Regions from separate parts of the Homo sapiens genome. Here region 1 is linked to region 2. Evidence: promoter capture Hi-C in 16 types of primary human blood cells and fetal thymus (Javierre and others, 2016). All regions are on one chromosome and are shown on one strand. Each heading gives the region's core, a stretch centred on a gene start or on the middle of the fragment in contact. The rest is flanking DNA. Distances are from core to core; before and after follow the strand shown. Region 1 holds the start of EYA3 (EYA transcriptional coactivator and phosphatase 3). Region 2 holds the start of YTHDF2 (YTH N6-methyladenosine RNA binding protein F2).

Region 1 (5,203 bases), core at 1,445-3,944, 650 kb after region 2:
TTACTGAGTGCCTACAGTGTGCCAGGCTCCATTCTGGTGCTGAAAAAACATCCGTGAACAAATCGGACAAACATCCATGGACTCATGGAACTTACATTCTGGCAGGGGGAGAGAGACACTAAGCCAAATTTACAAGCAACTTGTTGGATGGGAAAGTACAAAGAGGATGGTAGTGTTCCAATTTTTAATGTAGTGTCAGGGAAGATCTCATTGAGAAAGTGACATGTGAATAAAGATGTAAATGAGGTGAGCGGATGAATGATGCAGGTATCTGGGGGAAGAGCACTCCAGGCAGATGGATTAAAAAGCACAAAGGCCCTGGGCCTACCTGTAGTTTTGAGGAATGGCAGAGGCCAATGTGCTTTAAGGGGAAGGATGACAGAAGGAGTAGGAGTTGAGGTTAGAGCAGAGCTGTACTGGAGGTGTCAAATCTTGAGGGTCCTGTAGACCAATGTAAGGATTTTGGTTTTTACTCTGAAATAGGAATGCATTGGAGGAAGGATATGATCTAATTAGGGTTTTAACAGGAGCCCATTGCTACTATATTAATAGATTGTGGGGGCCGGGCGTGGAGGCTCACACCTGTAATCCCAGCACTTTGGGAGGCTGAGGCGGGTGGATCACTTGAGGCCAGGAGTTCAAGACCAGTCTGGCCAACATGGCAAAACCCCGTCTCTACTAAAAATATAACAATTAGCCGCGCGTGCTGGCGGGCCCCTGTAATCCCAGCTATTCAGGAGGCTGAGGCAGGAGAACCCAGGAGGCAGAGGTTGCACTGAGCCAAGATCAGGCCAGTACACTCCAGCCTGGGTGACAGAGGGAGGCTCTGTCTGAAAAAAAAAAAAAAAAAAAGATTGTGGGAAGGCAAGAGTATAAATAGGGCACTCACAGTCACTGACTGACTGGTTTATACCAACGGAGGCAGTAAATGGTCAGGTTCTGGACAGATTTTGAAGGCAAATCTTGCAGAACTTGCTGATGGAGTACATGTGGGATATGAGAGAGGAGTTAAGGATCTTAGTAAATGATGTTGCTTAGTACATTGTTGTCATCGGAAGAGGTGATCAAATATACAGTCAAAAAATGTAGAAAAAATAGTTTTTTTTCTGGATTTTGTTATTCGTGGTATTTGTGAGCTAATAAAAATGTTTGTAATTTTTCTCATTATAAAAGGTTCACTTTTATATCTAATATTGTATTTGTAATTTTGGATTTTTTTTTTTTTTAGACAGTCTCGCTCTGTTGCCCAGGCTGGAGTGCAGTGGCATAATCATAACTCACCGCAGCCTCTACCTCCTGGGCTCAGTTAGGTGCGTGCCACCACACCTGGCTAATTTTTCTGGGTTTTTTTTGTTGTTGTTTTGCTTTGTTTGTTTTGTAGAGACAGGGTCTAATTTTGTTGCCCAGGTGATCTCCAACTCCGGGGCTCAAGCAACCGGTCGACCTCGGCGTCCCAAAGTGCTAGGATTTCAGGCATGAGCCACTGTGCCTGGCCTTGATTATTTTAAAGAGGGCCCCCAAATTGAATAAACGTCAAGTCTCCACAAAGCCTGAATTCAACCTTGCTTCTAGCCCATACTTGGGTTGTAATTTAAAATTAACGAAACATTTAAGAATTTTGCTTCCGAAAACAGTGTGCACGAAGTGAATTGTAAGCCTAATATAATATTAAGAATAAACTAAATTTGGGGATAAAAAGATCACCTTGGGGCTCACGCCTGTAATCCCAGCACTTTGGGAGGCCAAGGGATCAACCGAGCTCCAGAGTTGGAGACCAGCCTGGGCAACATGGCGAAACCCCGTCTCTACCGAAAAATACAAAAATTAGCCGGGCGTGGTGGTGCGCGCCGGTAGTCTTAGCTACTCGGGAGGCTGAGGTGGGAGGATCACTTGAACCCAGGAGGCGGGGGTTGCAGTGAGCCGAGATCGCGCCACTGCACTCCAGCCTGGGCGACAGAGCAAGACTCTGTCTCAAAAAAAGAAAAAAAAAAAGGGATGGGCGCGGTGGCTCACGCCTGTAATCTCAGCACTTTGGGAGGCCCAGGCGGGCGGATCACCTGAGGTCGGGAGTTCAAGACCAGCCTGACCAACATGGAGAAACCCCGTCTCTACTAAAACTACAAAATTAGCCGGGCGTGGTGGCACATGCCTGTAATCCCAGCTACTCGAAAGGCTGAGGCAGGAGGATCGCTTGAACCCGGGAGGCGGAGGTTGCAGTGAGCCGAGATCGCGCCATTGCACTCCAGCCTGGGCAACAAGAGCGAAACTCCGTCTCAAAAAAAAAAAAAAAAAAAGATCACCTTGGGCTAGCCTCCCAAATGTCTTCCAAAACTTCCCACTCATTCTCCTTCCCAGTTTTTCTAAATCTACCAAATGCACCCAACACTTCTTACGTTCCTTTTAGCCAGGTAGGGATTACGCGCATTTTTAAAGACCTCCTTAAAAGTGAAGGCTGTAGTACCGTCAGGACTGCCTAGCGCTCACCCAGAAGCTGCTTGTCTCCGAGGCACTAAGAGGGGCGTGGCCATGGGCGTGGCTCGCCGGGCCGGCGGAGTGGGCGGAGCCTAAAAGCTTCCCCGCCCGGTCAGACTCAACACATGCGCCCAGAGGTTTCTAGTGGAACGAGGTGTGGATTGTGAGGTGACTCTGGCCGCTTACTTCCGGTTCCTAGCGATGCGCATCCGGGTCACGCTAACGCCGCGGTTTCCTCCGCTCGATTGGTTCTACTGTGGGTCTGGACTGATCTCCATGTCCTGTTGTGGGGCTTTTACAGCCTTTGGGTGAGTCTCAGCTGCCAACAGGGTCTGAGCGCAGCCGGGCGAGCACAGCGTGAAGGGGGATGGGTCTAGAGTTCTGCCTCGGTCCTTGTGGGTGGGAGTCTCTTCGCCTGTCCCTTGTCACTGCAGTGCTTCACTCACCTCAGCCCTTTCCTTCACGCTGGCCTCGCCTTATTCACCTCAGCTTAGCCTTCTCGCGCTTCCGTGCCTCTGTCGCCTCGCTGTTTTTCCTCAGCCTCATCAGTCCTTTTCCAACCTCGGTTTCTTGCCTTACGCCTCAGCGCTTCTCTCAGCCACTGCCTCTCCTTTTTTCTCCTCCTCCCTTCTTTTAGAACCTCTTTTCCCCTACCCCTGATCTGGGATCTCAGCGTTCTTTCACCTAGCGAGACGGCCCAGCTTCTCATTGTGCTCACTCTTCACCACGAGAAACTGAGCCTCTCCCTAGGGTCCTAGTTCCTTGTCCCCCAACTTTCTTCAGCTTTGATCCTTCCTCCTGGGACCAGTAGGTGACAGTGCTTCTCCTGGGGTTCTTCTGCCTGTCCTTAGCTAGAGGAGAGCTTTGCCAAAGCCCCGAAATGGGAAGACTTCCCCAGCCTGGGGGAAGTTTTGCCTTAAGGCGCCGGGTTAGACTGAACTCTGGTAGCTTCCATAGTTAGGGTACAACAAAGGCGTTCCTAGTTCTTCGCTTTACCTCAGTTTTGGGGCTCTCTCAAGAGCAGCTAACAGGTGGCAGGCACACGGTACTGCTAGCAGTTGGGCTGGCGCGATCTTGTTAATTGACAAGTCATGAAGAAGTTCTGTCAGTTTTGTGTTCCCATGAGAATGGATGTGCACAGCTGAGGCAAAAACGCCAATATTTTGGGACGTTCAGCTCTGTTTTCGGCATGGACGCTTCTTACAGGACACTTGTGATGATAGAGGACAGAATTTGTGGAGAGATCATTAGCCCCAGATTTATGAATTTATTGTGTTGTTTCCGAAAAGTGGTCTGCTGAAGAGTTCACTATAGTAATTTCAAAGTAATCTTTAAACTTAGTATGCACATATGCATTTTTTCATTTTTACTGTATTAAGTTTTCTATTTGTCTTCCTCTTCCTTCATTAGCCAGACTTTACTTAGAATTACATTACTTAGAAGTACATTACTTAGAATATTCTTCTAACTTTTGTATTTTTTTTTCCTTACCATTTCCACCTTTGTAGTAAAACTATCATTTTCTCATTTTGAGATTTAGGGCACCTTTCTTAAATTTCCCTAGAGGTTTAAAGTCATTTATAACATGAAGGAATTGCATTTAATAATGGTTAGTGCTCCCTTTCCCAAATTTTGTGATCTAGAGTATAGGCTTGGGTAATCTTTATTTTTTCCCGATGTTTATAGTGTATATCTAGCACTTGATTGCAGCGGTTTTTGTGTCATCAGTTTCTGTAATCTATAAATTGTGCTTTAAAATGTAGTACTTCAGTATGAACTTAAATACAGCTTTGAGCACCTGCTTATCTTTTGGCTAATTAGCTATAGAAAAATCTTCATTATATGATACATATACATATAAGAGTGTATAGTCCTTGGCTTATTCCAAAATTGGGCTCTCTTCAGCTGTTTTTAGCAAAGGACTTTGGAGCTTGGCCATGTTAGTCCTAGAAGCCACGGAGAAGGACCCTTCTGATTGGCTTTCAGGACTTATCTAACTGCTAAGTGAAGCCTCTTTGAAAGTTTCTTATGTGTACCTCCTCCCCACTACCTAGCTCTAGCTTCTGTCCAACCTGGCCTATTTTCCATCCTTCAAAACAAACCCCAATGTGTATGGCTTACTCCAGCTGCTTCCTTACCTTCAGGTTTGTGGGCTTCATTTAAGCCATGGGAATGCCAGCTTAATTAATGCAGATTAAGATAAGAACATTAAACCCCAAAAATGATGGGAAATCACTCTGTCTTCAAAACAATAGAAAATAATAAAATCTAGTTATAAAGATTATATACCATTGTCACTAGTAAGAAGTGGCACTCTTATTTACAAAACATAAAGAAATTAGGGTTTAGGTCTGGCATGGTGGTTCACACCTATAATCCCCAGCACTTTGGAAGGCCAAGGCCAGAGGATTGGCCAGGAGTTCGAGACCAACCTGGGCAACATAGACAAAATTAGCTTGGTGTAGTGGTGTGCGCCTGTAGTCCCAACTACTCAGGAGGTTGAGGTTGGAGGATTGCTTGAGCCCAAGATTTTGAGGTTACAGTGAGCTGTGATCACATCACTGCGCTCCACAAGGCAACAGAGTGAGACTCTCTTAAAAAAAAAAAAGAAATTACAACTTAAACAGTTAATTTCCAAGGTCATTTTTTTTTAAGTCAAGAAGTCCTATACATGCTCTCAAGAGTAGCGAGTGTTAATTCCATTAAAGCTGTAGGCTGGAAAGCACAATAT
Region 2 (5,022 bases), core at 1,539-4,038:
ATCTTCATTTGTGCTAAACAGTATTTTAACTTTCACTCCATTTTATAAATCCTACACCTCCCTTCGGTGAGAAATAAAGTATTCTCCACAGATGTAGGTGCAGCTCAACTCAAAAATTTCCTGACTCAGCCGGGCATGGTGGCTCACACCTGTAATCCCAACACTTCTGAGAGGTCGAGGAGGGCGGACCTCTTGAGCTCAGGAATTCAAGACCAGATTGGGCAACATAGTGAAACCCCCATCTCTACAAAAAAATTAAAAAAATTAGCCGGGCATGGTGGTCCCAGCTACTTGGGAGGCTGAGGCGGGCAAAATCACCTGGTAGGCAGAGGTTGCAGTGAGCCGAGATTGCACCACTGCACTCCAGCCTGGGTGACAAGAGTTGACACTACGTCTCAAAAAAAAAAAAAAAAAAATTTCCTAACTCCGAAATAGTTCTGATAATCTAAGAACCCATAAACTAGAGAAAAGAAAGACAGCCAGTCCTGCAGCACTGAATGAAGTTCAGGTGACTATTTTTTAGAGACCAGATCTTGTTCTGTCACCAAGGCTGGAGCGCAGTGGCTTTTCACAGGTATGATCGTAGATAGCTCACTGCAGCTTCAAACTTCTGGGCTCAAGAGATCTTCCCGCCTTCAGGTGATTTTACATTAGAACTTTCCCTATCATATGAATCCAAAGTTCTCTGGGGTGAAAATTCAGAATATTTAACACTGTAAGAATCCCTAAATTCTGCACTGCTACATTCTTGGTAAGGAAGAAGACAATTATTCATGCACATGTTACTGCCAGTAGAGTGTTATCAGTATTACGTTCTCAATACAGTATGGTTGCTGATATTACAGAGATGGGAATCTCAACGGCCTAGGACATTTGCAGTTAACTGTTTTATAATACATTAATAGGTATTAAGGAGGTGAACCCTCAGAACATGGGATTTCCTGATAGAGGGCAGAGAAAAAATACAGGTATTAAGAAAGTGAATCCTCGGCTAGGCGTGGTGGCTCACGCCTGTAATCCCAGCACTTTGGGAGGCCAAGGCGGGTGAATCACCTGAGGAGTTCAAGACCAGCCCGGCCAACATGAAACCCCGTCTCTACTAAAAAAATAGAAAAACTAGCTGTGTGCGGTGGTGCACACGTGTAATCCCACCTACTCGGGAGGCTGAGACAGGAGATTCGCTTGAACCCGAGAGGCGGAAGTTGGAGCGAGCCGAAATTGCGCCACTACACCCCAGCCTGGGCGTCAGAGCGAGACTCAGTCTCAAAAAAACAGAAAACAGAAAAAAGAAAAAAAAATGAATCCTCAGAAAATGGGATTTATTGGTAGAAGGCGGAGAAAGAATATACCACACCCTTCGATTAGATATGTAAATAGTTAACTACTCACGGGCCTTGCCTGTGGACTCAAGTAAGGTTCAAAATCATCATCGTTTAATCCATCCTTTTGATGTACAGATCCATTTTGTACTAAAGAAAAAAAAATTCAATTAGGAGTGTCCCAATCCTACAATCTTCCTTTCAAATTAGTTCATATATGCTAACCAGAGAAAAACCTTACTAGTTAACAAAGCACGTAAGATTGAACTTCAAAAGGGTAAGAGATGACAGTGAATGCTGAAGCGACAGTCGCCAGTGAAAATGTCCCCCTCCACCCAGAGCAAGTTGATCTAAAAAGGTCATTTTATTGGCTCCTCTGGATTTCCATTCCCTCCCGCTTCCCCTCCCCCATCACATGAGAGTACTTCCAGAGAGTGATCCACGAGGATGAAAAACAAAGGCCTTCTAAGACCTACAGGAAACTAAGGACCTGGAGCGTTTCAAAACCCAATCCACCCCCACCCTTAATGAATTACTCCTTGTTAGCGAAAAAGCTGTTCGCCAGCTGCAAGAACACACCGAAAGGGTCAAAATACTTAAGTGTGCGGCACCTGCGAACTAAGCGGCTTCCGAAAGGTCCTCCGCCCGGGGCGCTTCCCGGAGACCCCGCCCCCACCGCCCCGCGTCCCCCTCCCGGCTCAGGGCCACCGGCGGAGCGGGACTTACCTTTGTTTCCTTGACCTTTTGGTCTCTGCAGGGGAAGGAAACGTCGCCGAGCAGCAAGTTGTCCAAAGGAGAAATGGAAAAGGAAGAACAAATTAAGGCAGGGCCCGAAGGGAGAATAAAGGAGCAGGCCCGAGGGGAGGCGTCAGGAATGGTAGTGAGGAAGAGGCTGAAAATGGGAGGCGGGGGAAAGCGCCAGGCCCGTGGGGCAGGGGAGAAAACGCGGCAGACGCGCCACCGGCGACGCGAGGAACCCAGGGCTTTAAGGAAGGGGAAGGAAACAAGGAAGGAAAACGAGGCCCGCCGAGAGAAGGGAACGCGGCGCGGCCCGGCCCGTGGGCTCCGAGGCCCGAGGAGAAGCGGGAAGAACAGGCTGAGGGAGAGGCGCCGGGCGCGGCCGGCCTGAGAGGCCCGAAACCTGGCCCGCAAGAGACGACGCCTCGGCTCGGCTCGGCCTGCCCAGGAGCGGCGGGCCCGGGCCTAGTCGGGCTCCTTCTCGCCTCACACAATGGCCGAGGCATGCGGGCCGGGCCTGTACCTGCTCCAAGAGGCTGCTGGCCGACATGGCTCTCAGATCCTCACGGGCGGCGACGGCGGCGAACTCTCCTCAGCGCGGCGGCGGCGGCAGATGAGCCCCGTCTGCGGGAGCAGGCGGAGGCTTTTGTCCCTGACACTCGGGGGCCTCGGCGGACGCAGCGGAGACACAGCGCGCGGCTCAGGCTCCGGCTCCGACTCGGCGACGCTCTAGCCCAAGAGCTCAATGCCCGTCTCTATGCTTTTACGCGCGCGCCCGCCCCCCACCGCCTAAAGCAGAGCGCCGAACAGCGGAGGCGGGCGGCGCGCGCGGCGCGAGCGCTGACTCTCACATTCACTCACCCACGCGGAAGGGGCCCGGCGCGAAGAACCCCGGGAAGGGAGAGGCCGGCCGCTGCGCCCTCTGGCGGATTGGAGGAGCGGAAGCCGTGCTCACGGCCTCCCCGCCCCCACCGCCCCAGGATTAAGGCCTAGGGGGTTTGGGACGACCAGGGTCGCACCACGAGGTTTCGACTAACACCTGGAAAGACTAGCTCTGGCTTCAGAAGAACGACAAAAGCCGGTTTCTCAGTGAGGGAGGGGCCTCCGAAGCCCGCGAGACCTTAAAATGAACCTGCCTTCCAGCTGCAAGTGATACCCCACCCCCATCTGGGAGGTAACCCGACCCCTAGGGAGTCACACAGTCCCCAGGGAAACTTCATGGGGGCCCTGTCCGGGAGTGACCCGCCCCCGCCCCCGCGAGGGGCTTGGTCATCCTCTGTTAGCCGACTACAGAAAGAGTACCCAGAGAGCAAAACACACACCGAAAGAATCCAGTCTCCCGCAAAAGAGATTCACCCCTTAGCATTGCAGGAAGGAGAATCTACAATTTATTTTCGGGGAAATCGCTGGCCCCAAGATAATCTGTTAAATTGTGGACTTTATTTCCAAGAAAAATACACCTCATGCATCTACACAAAACTTTCAAGGAGTCCGGAGAACCTATGAATCTTAAGGACCTCAAGAGGGAAGCAAGGAAATTAACATTATTGAAATACCAGCTGTGGGCCAGGCTTTGTTGTTAGGTATTTTCAAACACATTAAAGTCTTTCGACAACTTCAAAATCGCTATCAGTCTTTCGGTTTTTTACGACTGGAAAAACAGAAAGCTTAAGTAATGTGCCCAAGTTTACAAAACTATTAAATAGCCAGGTGTATCTGACACTAACATAATGGTATCTCTCTACCCCTACGAGACTCTGTATTAGGGAACCAGAATATAGGGGAGATGCAAAGGATGGGCAAAAGTATTTTCAATCAGAAGCAAAGCCAACTCATGCAGGAATATTTGATACTAGGAAAGCCCATCTAATAGCTTTTGTTATTGCAAGTACGTCGTGGTAAACAGGTAACTAATGCACTAATTGTCAACCTCGTACTATCCACACGCTGGATATAGGAGGCTTGGGTGGACTCGGTAAAATAAATAACATGGCATCTTGGATTTAACATCATAATTTGGTCAAAGTGCTCAAAGCACTTTTTTTCTCTGCCCATAATCACATTTATGGTAGGAATGAGTAAGGTCAGGCACCAAAGGTGAAGGACTTTTAATGGAGACAGTAAAATGTCAAGTCTGGGAGCATAGATTCCATCAAGGGAATAGAATAAACCTAGTAATACTTCTTTTTAAAGATACTCGGCTACGGCGGGCGCGGTGGCTCATGTTTGTAATCCCAGCACTTTGGGAGGCCAAGGCGGGCCGGATCATGAGGTCAGAAGATCGAGACCATCCTGGCCAACATGGTGAAATCTCGACTCTACTAAAAATACAAAAATTAGCTGGGCATGGTGCCATGCACCTGTAGTCCCAGCTAATCGGAGGCTGAGGCAGGAGAATCGCTTGAACCCGGGAGGCAGAGGTTGCAGTGAGCCGAGATCACGCCATTACACTCCAGCCTGGGCAACAGAGCGAGACTCGTCTCAAAATAAATAAATAAATAAATAACAAATAATAATAATCAGCCACTTAGCTCCATGGCCCAGATTTATGTATAAACTGTAAGCGGTTGCCTATACTTACCCTTGGAGGCAACATGGCATTGTAAAAACAGCATTAGACGAGAAGTCATATGCTGGGAGACAAAGGGTCTAAATAATGGTTTCCCCACCCAGATGTGCAATACTGGGTAAACAACTAAAACCTTTCTTAGATTCCCTCATTTGATAAAGGGGATGATGGATAATGATACCTACCCAACAGGTTTGTCGTGAAGATAAACTTTAAAAAAAAAAAAAAAAGCCGGGTGCGGTGGCTCACGCCTGTAATCCCAGTATTTTGGGAGGCCGAGGAGGGCAGATCACCCGAGGTCAGGAATTCAAGACTAGCCTGCCCAACACGGTGAAACCACGTCGGTACTAAAAATACAAAAATTAGCTTGAGCGTGGTGGTGGGCCCCTGGAATCC

The links. Contacts are between HindIII fragments. The CHiCAGO score rates a contact against its expected background, and 5 or more counts as called.
Region 1: a contact is called between the fragment with the promoter of EYA3 here and the fragment with the promoter of YTHDF2 in region 2, in 1 of 17 cell types (fetal thymus). The highest score is 5.0, in fetal thymus.

What each region holds. Positions count from the first base shown.
Region 1 is chr1:28,086,101-28,091,303 of GRCh38, reverse strand. It overlaps EYA3 (EYA transcriptional coactivator and phosphatase 3), which reads left to right and starts at 2,694. Exons shown (of 18, transcript NM_001990.4): 1 at 2,694-2,780. RefSeq lists enhancers at 2,755-2,824, 3,035-3,094. The HindIII fragment of the contact is 6,678 bases long and covers 2,574-5,203 here.
Region 2 is chr1:28,734,706-28,739,727 of GRCh38, reverse strand. YTHDF2 (YTH N6-methyladenosine RNA binding protein F2) reads right to left here and starts at 2,788. Exons shown (of 5, transcript NM_016258.3): 1 at 2,581-2,788; 2 at 2,046-2,070; 3 at 1,390-1,469. The coding sequence starts at 2,607. RefSeq lists enhancers at 2,182-2,291, 2,174-3,072, 3,392-3,441, 3,972-4,871. The HindIII fragment of the contact is 4,406 bases long and covers 1-3,726 here.